Linked DNA regions of Homo sapiens: region 1 is linked to region 2. The links are contacts of gene promoters, found by promoter capture Hi-C in human tissues and cell types (Jung and others, 2019). All regions are on one chromosome and are shown on one strand. The core of a region is centred on a gene start or on the middle of the fragment in contact, and the rest is flanking DNA. Distances in the headings are between cores, read along the strand shown. Region 1 has its middle 66 kb from the start of TNRC6B-DT. Region 2 holds the start of ATF4 (activating transcription factor 4).

Region 1 (6,117 bases), core at 982-3,481, 590 kb after region 2:
TTTTAAAGTTTCAGTTTCACTTTGACTTAAAAATGATCTGTCCCGTCTTGTTAAGGGGCCTTAATGAATATGTTTACTAAAAAATAAAAAAAGACTGAAAAACTATATAGATTCATGACTGTTTCTATTTTTTATTTTTATTTTAAGAGACCAAAAAGAAGCTTCTGTTTCCTCTCTGCTTCTGTCAGCTATAAAATACTGTTAGACAAATTTAAGCTCGCTACATAAAATGAACATGGTTATACTTATTGCAGGATAATTTCAGAACATTAATCACAGGAAAAAATTAAATTAAAAAATACACACTATCCAACATTGACTTTGATAATAAAATGGCTTTAACTAAGGCAGTGGCTACCCCCCTTTCTCTGTTTATCCATAAATTTAAACCTCTTTTTTGGCCAGAGATGGACTGTATGCAAACCGCATCCAGAATGCTTTTAGTTTGTGCCACAAAATATGAAGAAAATGTTTTCAGTTTATGGCAACTAGATCCATGACATATGATGCTCCAGGAACTGTTTTTACAGTGCGCAAGATGCACAGGAACAGAATAGCAAACTCACATGATTGTTGGCAAGGAAAACCTGGCTACGTGGCTGATGTTAAATTTGCTTTTTAAGACAGCCAGATCAAGAAATGTCTGAAGACTTTGAGACTGCAGCAGGGAGATGATTTTGCAGTTAGTAAACACAGCCCTGGGAAGCCATGGCAAGGCAGTTCTGGTAAGCCATTTACAGCTTCTCTTCTAGCAGGAGAGCACAGTGGAGGCTCTGGAGAGGAAAACCTGACGTGGCCTCTAGAGAATGTTGCCCAGGGCAGTAGAGCCTCCCTGGTGGCACTGCTGTCAGCACCACCCTGCACAGCCCGGCAGAACCCTGCCTTGCCCTGGCCATCTCTGTCTCTGAGATTCACCACGGAGGTTAGCTTGGTTATAGGTGAGCTGTTAAGAGTAGGGGTTTGTGTTCTTGGAAGTTAGGGCTTAGGAGCCACACATTTCCTTCTTGCCCAGCTCTTGCTTGCTTAGACCATTTTCTTTATCTTTTTCAATGAACACTTGTCAAAGTGTGCTCCTTCCTCCCATCCAAGACCCTTTCAGAAGGTCACAACTATTTTAATAATACTAAGATGCTGTATGCCTTTTAAATTCATTCTCCCATGAGTGCACATTGGAGTTTTTCCAGACATGTGATACTGCAAAAGATTGAATGCAAAAGTATATATTTGGGTGCAGCTGTTGTTGCTCAAGCTAGACATTAAAGAAATTTGCAAAGATGTAAAACAGTGCCACTGTCCTCAAATTTTTAATCCTTTGAAATACCATTTTTAATTTAAAAAGCAATAGTTTATTATTTCTAAGTTTCAGGGTACATGTGCAGGATGTGCAGGTTTGTTACATAGGTAAACATGTGCCATGGTGGTTTGCTGCACTGTGAACCCATCACCTAAATATTAAGCCCAGCATACATTAGCTATTTTTCCTGATGTCTCCCTCCCCCCGCCACCCACCCCCAGCCAACAGGCCCAGTGTGTGTTGCTCCCCTCCCTGTGTCCATGTGTTCTCATTGTTCAGCTCCTAATTATGAGTGAGAATATGCAGTGTTTGATTTTCTGTTCCTGCATTAGTTTGCTGAGGATAATGGCTTCCAGCTGCATCCGTGTTCCTGCGAAGCACATGATCTCATTCCTCTTTATGGCTGCATAGTATTCCATGATGTATATGTACCACATTTTCTTTATCCAGTCTATCATTGATGGGCCTTTGGGTTGATTCCATGTCTTTGCTGTTGTGAATAGTGCTGCAGTGAACATACGCGTGTATGTATCTTTATAATAGAATGATTTATATTCCTTTGGGTATATACCCAGTAATGGGATTGCTGGGTCAAATGGTATTTCTGGTTCTAGGTCATTGAGGAATCACCACACTGTCTTCCACAATGGTTGAACTCATTTACATTCCCACCAACAGCGTAAAAGCGTTCTTATCTCTCTGCAGCCTTGCCAGCATCTGTTGTTTCTTGACTTTTTAATATAAAATCACCGTTCTGACTTGCATGAGATGGCATCTCATTGTGGTTTTTCATTTCTCTAATGATCAGTGATAGTGAGCTTTTTTAAGTTTGTTGGCCGAATAAATGAACTAATACTTCTGATGTTTCATAGTTATAATTTTTAGTATGGCAAATATTGATAATTAAAATTAAGATAAACAAGAGCTCTTTGAGGTCCTCCATAATTTTCGTAAGTGTAAAGGGATCCTGAGACAAAAGGGTTTGAGAATCACCTGCTTCAAATCCTGTCAGTTCCAGCTGGAATCCCAGTTTCTCTCTGAAGGCGGCACAGGTTATCTAGCTCACCGTTTTCTCTACGTTCTCTAAACTTCTGTGCCACTCAGCTTAGCGCTTAGCTTTTTTCTCCTTATATTTAGTGTAAGGCCCCTGAAAAAGGGGATCAGATCTGAAATGAGAGATTTTTAGACTTCCAAGGTACACAGTGCGGGGCACAGCATAAACAATTGTTAATGATTATTCATATTACTATCATCATTATCAATGTTCAACTCACTGGTTAATTGGAGAAGCAGTATACATCTAAAATTTGTGAACAATCTCACCTCATAAAATCAATATGCAATATAGAAAAAGAACAAAGGTTTTTCTTTAATCACCAATAAATTGGTCACAAAAGTTAACATGTTAATCTGCTTAATTATTTCTTTTAATTTTAATTTTTAATGTAAATTGCCAAATTATAATTGCATATACTTATGGGGTACAAAGTGATATTGTGATTTATGAATATAATATGGAATGATTAAGTCAACCCAGTTAACATATTTATTACCTCTAATCTGCTTAATTCTTATGTGACCAACAATTGCAATAAAACCTGGACATAGGCCCTTGCTCTGAAAACTTGCTGAGCACAGTGCCATGTACTTAGTAAGCATTCAGTAAAGCTGGTTGAGTTGAATCTGCTGTTTCAGTAGCTGCCTCTGCTGTTCTTGTAACCCTCGGTGAATTCCCTACCATCCCTGCCTCTACCTGTAAGTGATTTGCAGTTGTTTTAGGCTTTTAGAAGGCAGTCTTACTTTCTCAAGCCTTTTCTGTTAAAGAATTGACAGATTATTCTGGGGCCAGGCTGGAGGGCATAAATTAGTTGAGCAAGCTGGATTAATACCCCAAGGTTGGGTATGAGTCTTTCTGGTCATTCCTACTTTGGACTGAGTTTGTTTTTCTTAGGCAACCTTTCCTGACTTCCAAGACATAAAAATCAGATTAACATTCTTGTGCCAGGGTCCTACCATCAGTCCCAAAGTTTCCTTCACTGCTTCTCCCAGGAAGTCTGGGGATGCTGTGCAAGTAGTACACTGCCCTCATAGACTGTTACAGCTGATAAGCCCCAGCTTTGTTTTTGTAAGCTCAGAATGTCATATTGTATTGAGTTGATTTTAGTTTTTTCATAAAAATGTGTGTGTTTATTCCACAATAATTTATTGGGAACGTCCTTTGTGCTGGCACTATATTGAATGACAGTGATAAGGAAGCCTTAGACCGGGAAGCTTACCACCTCCTAGTGTACACACACATAAGCAAGCCTAGTGTGTGTTCTGAGTGCAGTTGCTCACCAGGGGAAGGATCCGTCCAGATCACCTGTGAGAAGAGGGAGTCAGGAAAGACTTCACAGAACAGGTTTCCCTAAGCCTGCATCTTGAAAGTTGGGAAGAAATTTGTCCTGTCCGTGGGAAGGCAGTCCAGGTGCAAACAGCACGTTCAACGGCACGCGAAACCACGTGGTGCTCAAGGGAAATGGAAAACAATTGGGCTTTGGAGGCGAAGGCAGTGGGGCGAGCAGGGACCGGGGTGAGCAGGGACCAGGCCTCGCCGACCGCAGTGGGAATGGGGTTTTATCTACAGGGTGGTTGAGGCACATTGCAAAGGCAGTAAGGATTTCTACTTTTTAAAGGTAATTCTAGTGGTGTAGGGGAGGGGTGGGTCTTGAGGGTAGGAAAACCAGTTGAAAAGATAACTAGCTTAAGAGTGGTGAGAAGCTATGCCAGAAGCAGGGCAGTCAGTGGCAGTAGGAATAAGGAAGTATATACTAGAATAGTTGGGAATTAGAACTGACAGTTTGGTGAGAGGAAGGAACTGCTGATGTTCACAGACTTCTGATTTGAGTGGGATGGCAGTATTCCCAAGTGAGGCAGAAGAACACGCTTTGGGGGAGGGTTGTTTTATTTTAGGGCCCTGTGGCACCTGAGGTGGAGCTGCATCAGGCAGTTATGTAGATAGTTCTAAAGACTGTAAGAAAGGTCAGCACTAGAGAAAGACTTGGGAGTCATCAAGATCCAGGGGGAAGCTGTATCTATGAGAAAGCATAAGACCAGGCTGGGCGCAGTGGCTCACACCTGTAATCCCAGCACTTTGGGAGGCCGAGGCGGGTGGATCACGAGGTCAGGAGTTCAAGGCCAGCCTGGCCAAGATGGTAAAACCCCAACTCTACTAAAAATACAAAAATTAGCTGAGTGCGGTGGCAGGCGCCTGTAATTCCAGCTACTTGGGAGGCTGAGGCAGGAGAATTGCTTGAACCCAGCGGCAGAGGTTGTAGTGAACCAAGATCGCGCCACTGCACTCCAGCCTGGGCAACAGAGTGAGACTCCCTCTCAAAAAAGAGAAAGCAAAAGGATGGGTGTGTAATAAAAAGAGAAAGGGAGGTGTGGACTCCGGAGGAGGAATACACCAGTAATGAAAGGACAGGGAGAAAAAAAACTGTCCTGTGAAACAGACTGGAAAGAAACAGACCAAGAGGTAGCAAAAGTACTGCCGTGGGCCCTTCCAGGGGGGTGGGTGAAGGGACTAAACCTGCTCCATGTCAGATTGGGCATCAGAACTGAGTTCAATCCGTGAAGCCAAGAGTTGAGTTTGGTTCCCTCTCCATGACCCTGTCCCCCAGTCTGCCATGTACAGCAGCAGCTGAAGCAGCAGCTTTTCACCGTCTCACCCACCCCAAACCCTGCCCATGATAAGAAGGCTGGTTGCAGACCCAAGGGAACAGGAGGACCCGACACAGCCTGGATACCAGGAACTAAAACAGGATGCCCCTGGCCCAGTGGCTGGATCTTCAGTATCCTTACTCTTAAGACAGGAAAGGAGCTCCCAAATGACAGGTTTCAGGTGGTTCTGCTTCGGATTTTTATTTATTTATTTTGTGTTTATTTTTAGACAATGGTTCTGACTTTTAAATGCTAGAGAAAGATTAAAGGAAGAACAGTTGAATAGTATCTGTTGCATTGACACTGAGATTGATAGGGACAGAAATCAAGTTGTGATGATTAATAAGTGAATGAGAAATTAGTATGTTGAGACCACAAATATAAACTGCTTTTTCTAGAAGCTTGACTAGGCCAGGTGCAGTGTTTCACGCCTATAATTCCAGCACTTTGGGAGGCCAAAGAGGGTTGATCACTTGAGGTCAGGAGTTCAAGACAAGCCTGGTCAACATGGTGAAACCCCGACTAAAAATAGAGCCAGGCATGGTGGCACACACCTGTAATCCCAGTTACTCAGGAGGCTGAGGCAGGAGAATTGCTTGAACCTGGGAGGTGGAGGTTGCAGTGAGCTGAGATTGCGTCACTGCACTCCAGCCTGGGCGACAGAGCAAGACTCCATCTCAACAACAACAAAAGCTGGACTAGGAAGGGAAAGAGGGGAGGAGGAGCGCAATAGCTAGAACAGATTTTAAGGTTAAAGAGGATGTTTTTAGGAATGGACAGACAGTATTTTTACAGAACTTCCAAAGCGTTGAAGTGAAGTAGGGAGTGGCCTAAAACTGCAAAGATAGTATTTCCAGGTCTTGGAATGATGGTAAATCTCTTGTGTATGGGGACTAAATAAAACCATCTGTTTCTAGCAGATCTACCTCCACCTGTGCTCCTTTTGAGACAAGGTCTGGCTCTGTTGCCCAGACTGGAGTGCAGTGGTGTGATCTAGGCTCACCGCATCCCCTGCCTCCTAGGCTCAAGCCATCCTCCCACCTCAGCCTCCTGAGTAGGTGGGACTACAGGTGCATACTACAATGCTGGGCTAATTTTTTTGTGTTTTTTGTAGAGATGGG
Region 2 (6,115 bases), core at 1,029-3,528:
CTTTTCAGTGTCAAAATTGGGGCAGTGTTACTTTAATACTCAACCATTTGCACAGTCATCTGTCAGGAGGTACTGTCTATAGCAAAAGGAGAACACGTCCTGTGGGTCCCTAGTTCTGCCTTTGGAAGACATGGCTAATGGCTCAGGTATTCTTACTGCCTTTGCATGGAAAGGCTAGAAAACTCCTGTATTTTTTTTTTTTTTAAAGACAGGGTCTTGCTCTGTTGCCCAGGCTGAGTTGCAGTGTTGTGATCACAGCTCACTGCAGCTTGGAATTCCTGGGCTCAAGCAATCCTCCCACCTCGGCTTGAGTAGGTGGGGCTACAGGCTGGAGCCACTGCTCCTGGCGCCAACTTCTGTATATCTCAACACTCACGATTCCCCAAGGAGAAAGAAAAAACATACTTTTATTCCAGCATCCAGTATGCCTTGTGTATACCAGTTTTAAAGTTGTTGGTTTCATCTCATTAAATAATAATGAAGAGTCCTCTGAGGCAGCAGGAGGATGTGATGGAGAGTGGCAGAAGTCAGGGTCAGGAGACCTGAGTTCTATGAACAGTGGCAGCAACAGCAACCATTATTGGGCGCTTACATGTACCAGGCAGGCACTGTGCTAAGTGCTTTACATGTATGATCTCACTTCATGAGGCAAGGATACTCATCAGTAGTCTCATTTTACAAATGAGGAAACTGAGGCTCAGAGAGTATAAGTCATTTAGCCAAAATGTCCCAGCCAGGATTCTTTTGGATGCGCTCCCCAAAATCTGTCTTCTAACTCCTACCCCATACTCCCTCCACTGGGAGCCTTGTGACTTTGAGCAAGAAGCTTCATCCCATTGGGCCTCGGTTTACCATTGGAAAGGATTTGTGGGCGAGGTTGAATGAGCGCAGCAGATGGCCTGTGGTTATTTAGAGCAGTGCTTCCCTGGTTGTTTGATATCACAGCGCTCATACTTGTGTGGCCCAGTGAAATGGAGGCGGAAACTCAAAGTTTCCACCTTCACAGGGCCTGACTGGAAGGGGCTGAAGGATGATGGGGAGGTTTCTTGTATTCTTAAAACAGACTACCCCTTCCCAACGCACAACCCCCAGTAAGTGGCCGTGGGTTCCCAAGCGCCTCTCCTCCCTGGGCCATGGGCGTGACTGCTGAAAAGCGGGTTAGGCCGGGGAGTTCAGAATCCGGAGTGAATCCGAACTACCCCAGGGAGACGGCAGCGAAGAAAATCTTGTTCTTAGGAGAACGCAATCTTCGGACACCAGAAGTTCCTCTATGATGCTATTCTGTGGCAGCCTTGCACTTGAGCCGGATGAAAATTGTAAAAACCCAGGTTGGGCGACAGGACGGCGCGTCTTCCCGGCTCCTTTCCAGAGTTTAGGAGGAGCCATGCAGACTCAGCCGGCCTTTGGGGGTAGGTGGACAGGCCCGGCGCGCCCTCTCGAGGCCCCTTCAACCTCCCGGGGGCAGCAGCGCCGTGTCGGCTATGAATGGGGCCTCTGGAAAACTCAGGCTTGGAACAGGTAACCCCCCGGTTTCCGCAGGCCACAAATCACCACCCGCAACCGAAGGACGCGCAGGCTGGGAGCGGCGGCGGGGCCACCAGTGCGGACCTCCACTGAGGGCGGCGGGATCCGACCGCAAGGGCTGGTCCCTGAGGCCACTAAGGGGTGCGCTGGGCTAAGGCCGCCTGGGGGCAGGAGCCAGCGCGATCGTGGCGGGCCAGCAGGCGGGGCTGGCTGAGGACTAGCAGCGACCCGAGACCCCAACCCTTCCCACGCGGACCCCGGGATCCCTCTCCCAGCAGCCGCCCATCTAGGGCCCTGAGCCAATAAGAGCTCGAGATATATATGATTCACCGGGCCTGGGCCAATCACCTTGACGCGCGCTCTTCGCCAGCACCTCGCGCGATAACCTGGCGTCCTCGGCCTTCACAATAAAAACTCTTCGCCGGAAAACGACCTTTCCCCGCCCACTGCGCTGACACCGGAAGCGAGGCGTGTCTGGGAGATCACTCCGCGCTCCGGCGGCGAAGGAAAGAACGGACTCTGATCATAGAAGCCTAGTAAAGTAGTACACCTCTCTCCTTTCGTGAGGCCATAAGAACAAACTCCTTTTCTCGTCACAGCTACGCCCTGGGCATAAACGGTTGGGGCGTCAAAGGGAGGGAGGGAAGGGAGCGGGCGGGAGGAGACGGTCACGTGGTCGCGGCGGAAGGATGCGTCTGTGCTGCGTCCCCATAGAGACGAAGTCTATAAAGGGCCGGCGGGCGGCCACGGCAGCCATTTCTACTTTGCCCGCCCACAGATGTAGTTTTCTCTGCGCGTGTGCGTTTTCCCTCCTCCCCGCCCTCAGGGTCCACGGCCACCATGGCGTATTAGGGGCAGCAGTGCCTGCGGCAGCATTGGCCTTTGCAGCGGCGGCAGCAGCACCAGGCTCTGCAGCGGCAACCCCCAGCGGCTTAAGCCATGGCGTGAGTACCGGGGCGGGTCGTCCAGCTGTGCTCCTGGGGCCGGCGCGGGTTTTGGATTGGTGGGGTGCGGCCTGGGGCCAGGGCGGTGCCGCCAAGGGGGAAGCGATTTAACGAGCGCCCGGGACGCGTGGTCTTTGCTTGGGTGTCCCCGAGACGCTCGCGTGCCTGGGATCGGGAAAGCGTAGTCGGGTGCCCGGACTGCTTCCCCAGGAGCCCTACAGCCCTCGGACCCCGAGCCCCGCAAGGGTCCCAGGGGTCTTGGCTGTTGCCCCACGAAACGTGGCAGGAACCAAGATGGCGGCGGCAGGGCGGCGGCGCGGGCGTGAGTCAAGGGCGGGCGGTGGGCGGGGCGCGGCCGCCCTGGCCGTATTTGGACGTGGGGACGGAGCGCTTTCCTCTTGGCGGCCGGTGGAAGAATCCCCTGGTCTCCGTGAGCGTCCATTTTGTGGAACCTGAGTTGCAAGCAGGGAGGGGCAAATACAACTGCCCTGTTCCCGATTCTCTAGATGGCCGATCTAGAGAAGTCCCGCCTCATAAGTGGAAGGATGAAATTCTCAGAACAGCTAACCTCTAATGGGAGTTGGCTTCTGATTCTCATTCAGGCTTCTCACGGCATTCAGCAGCAGCGTTGCTGTAACCGACAAAGACACCTTCGAATTAAGCACATTCCTCGATTCCAGCAAAGCACCGCAACATGACCGAAATGAGCTTCCTGAGCAGCGAGGTGTTGGTGGGGGACTTGATGTCCCCCTTCGACCAGTCGGGTTTGGGGGCTGAAGAAAGCCTAGGTCTCTTAGATGATTACCTGGAGGTGGCCAAGCACTTCAAACCTCATGGGTTCTCCAGCGACAAGGCTAAGGCGGGCTCCTCCGAATGGCTGGCTGTGGATGGGTTGGTCAGTCCCTCCAACAACAGCAAGGGTGAGTGGGCCACCACCACATCGTCCTGGTGGGATCTAGGGTTAGGGGCCTCCTACCTTTGTATCTGACTCACTTGGCCCCATCACTCAAATGTTTTGCAGAGGATGCCTTCTCCGGGACAGATTGGATGTTGGAGAAAATGGATTTGAAGGAGTTCGACTTGGATGCCCTGTTGGGTATAGATGACCTGGAAACCATGCCAGATGACCTTCTGACCACGTTGGATGACACTTGTGATCTCTTTGCCCCCCTAGTCCAGGAGACTAATAAGCAGCCCCCCCAGACGGTGAACCCAATTGGCCATCTCCCAGAAAGTTTAACAAAACCCGACCAGGTTGCCCCCTTCACCTTCTTACAACCTCTTCCCCTTTCCCCAGGGGTCCTGTCCTCCACTCCAGATCATTCCTTTAGTTTAGAGCTGGGCAGTGAAGTGGATATCACTGAAGGAGATAGGAAGCCAGACTACACTGCTTACGTTGCCATGATCCCTCAGTGCATAAAGGAGGAAGACACCCCTTCAGATAATGATAGTGGCATCTGTATGAGCCCAGAGTCCTATCTGGGGTCTCCTCAGCACAGCCCCTCTACCAGGGGCTCTCCAAATAGGAGCCTCCCATCTCCAGGTGTTCTCTGTGGGTCTGCCCGTCCCAAACCTTACGATCCTCCTGGAGAGAAGATGGTAGCAGCAAAAGTAAAGGGTGAGAAACTGGATAAGAAGCTGAAAAAAATGGAGCAAAACAAGACAGCAGCCACTAGGTACCGCCAGAAGAAGAGGGCGGAGCAGGAGGCTCTTACTGGTGAGTGCAAAGAGCTGGAAAAGAAGAACGAGGCTCTAAAAGAGAGGGCGGATTCCCTGGCCAAGGAGATCCAGTACCTGAAAGATTTGATAGAAGAGGTCCGCAAGGCAAGGGGGAAGAAAAGGGTCCCCTAGTTGAGGATAGTCAGGAGCGTCAATGTGCTTGTACATAGAGTGCTGTAGCTGTGTGTTCCAATAAATTATTTTGTAGGGAAAGTACTTGTGCGTTTGAATTCCTTTCCTGGCAAAGTAACCGAGTGAAGCGCCACCCACCCACCCCAAGCTGGTCTTAACATTTCCTGTGAGATCTGGGGGAGGAGGCAGTCCAAGGCTGAAGATCGGTTCCCAGAGTGGGATTTGCTCATCCCTGCTCGGTGTAGGCCACGATGGCTGATTCATGGGGCCCTGGAGCCGTATAGTTGGCCATTTATAGTAAGCTGGGTCCTTTGCCCAGAGCTGAGTGCTGGTTGTGTAGGGGGAGGAGGCTGGAGATCTCTGGGAGATTCAGAGGGAGGGACAGCCTGGGCCTCCACCTGTTTATTCAAGAGGGCTTCATGCCAACAGCTGTCGCATAAAACCCTGAATAAGGTTGCACGGTCTTTGAGATAGCACACAAGATTAGGTTTCACTTGTTACCTGAACAGTTCTGCAGAAGCCTCATCCTGAAGAAAGAAATGGCTCCTTTTGGGAATTGATGCTGAAACAGGACAGGAGCTGAGGGTTGGCCTCCGTTTCTCCTTACGGGGTGGAAGGATGACAGCCTGCGCAGGTTCTGGCTAGAGCTGGGCACAAAGGCAGGCAACAGTTCCTGTGAAGGCTGTTGTGCCTGCTGCTATCTAAACTAGGAGGCCTGACGGCCTCGGGACATGTTAGGATGGATCAGTGCTTAGAAGCCACACCTCACTGCAGCTTCGGACTTCTGGCGGGGCGACTTCGCCTTTCCAGGCAGGCGATGTCTTTTGTCCTGTGTTGCGGATGAATGCTTGAATGCAAAGATCAGCGCAGCCCGGGTAGGTCTGCCCTTCCTCTTGTGTCCTTCGGGATTAGCCTCGTTTTCCGTCTGTGGAAGGTGGTGTAGACCGGGTGTGCCTGGGGAATGGCTGGGAGGAGAGTGAGAGTGAGTGCAGCCCAGGCACTGCTGTAACTGAGCACAGCACATGTGTTCTTTCACCCAGTCCCCGCAGCACACCCGTGAGGCAGACGCCACACCCAGGAGGAATTTTTTTTTTTTGAGATGGAGTCTGGCTCTGTCGCCCAGGCTGGAGTGCAGTGGCGCGATCGCGGCTCACTGCAAGCTCCGCTTCCCGGGTTCACGCCATTCTCCTGCCTCAGCCTGCCGGGTAGCTGGGACTACAGGCGCCTGCCACCACGCCCAGCTAATTATTTTTGTATTTTTAGTAGAGAGGGGGTTTCACCGTGTTAGCCAGGATGGTCTTGATCTCCATCTCCTGACTTCGTGATCCGCCCGCCTCGGCCTCCCAAAGTGCTGGGATTACAGGCGTGAGCCACCGCCACCGCGCCCGGCCTTTTTTTTTTTTTTTTTTTTTTTTTTTGAGACAGGGTCTCTCCGTTGTCCAGGCTAGAGTGCAATGGTGCATTCTCGGGTCACCACAACCTCCACCTCCCGGATTCCAACGATTCTCCTGCCTCCGCCTCCTGAGTAGCTGGGATTACAGACGCCCGCCACCACGCCCAGCTCACCTAGGAGGATTTTGAGCAAAGAGGTAGAGCTGGGATTTGAACCCAGGACGGCTCCAGTCTGGGCTCTTCATTTTGCCTCTTGAGCTGGAAACAAATGGCCCGTAACGACCTGCATGGTGGGGCCCACGTGACCTTTCTGGTGCCCAGCATAGACTGTCACCTGAGAGCCAACTGTTGATGGAATGCATGCAGCTGGTTGTGGAGAAGTGGCCCGAGGCACCACTGGGAGT

Evidence for each region. Contacts are between HindIII fragments. The study calls those that stand out against the background at their distance.
Region 1: a contact is called between a fragment that was not itself captured here and the fragment with the promoter of ATF4 in region 2, in 1 of the 25 tissues and cell types used here (dorsolateral prefrontal cortex).

The regions. Positions count from the first base shown.
Region 1 is chr22:40,107,432-40,113,548 of GRCh38, forward strand. It overlaps a transcript of TNRC6B not described here. Among named protein-coding and RNA genes, the nearest start is that of TNRC6B-DT, 66 kb to the left of the region's middle. The HindIII fragment of the contact is 4,499 bases long and covers 1-4,481 here.
Region 2 is chr22:39,518,284-39,524,398 of GRCh38, forward strand. It overlaps ATF4 (activating transcription factor 4), which reads left to right and starts at 2,279. Exons shown (of 3, transcript NM_182810.3): 1 at 2,279-2,468; 2 at 3,071-3,388; 3 at 3,490-4,400. The coding sequence starts at 3,163. The coding sequence ends at 4,319. RefSeq lists a silencer at 1,617-1,816 and enhancers at 2,197-2,346, 2,707-2,756, 4,637-4,686, 4,763-5,264. The HindIII fragment of the contact is 4,198 bases long and covers 1-3,660 here.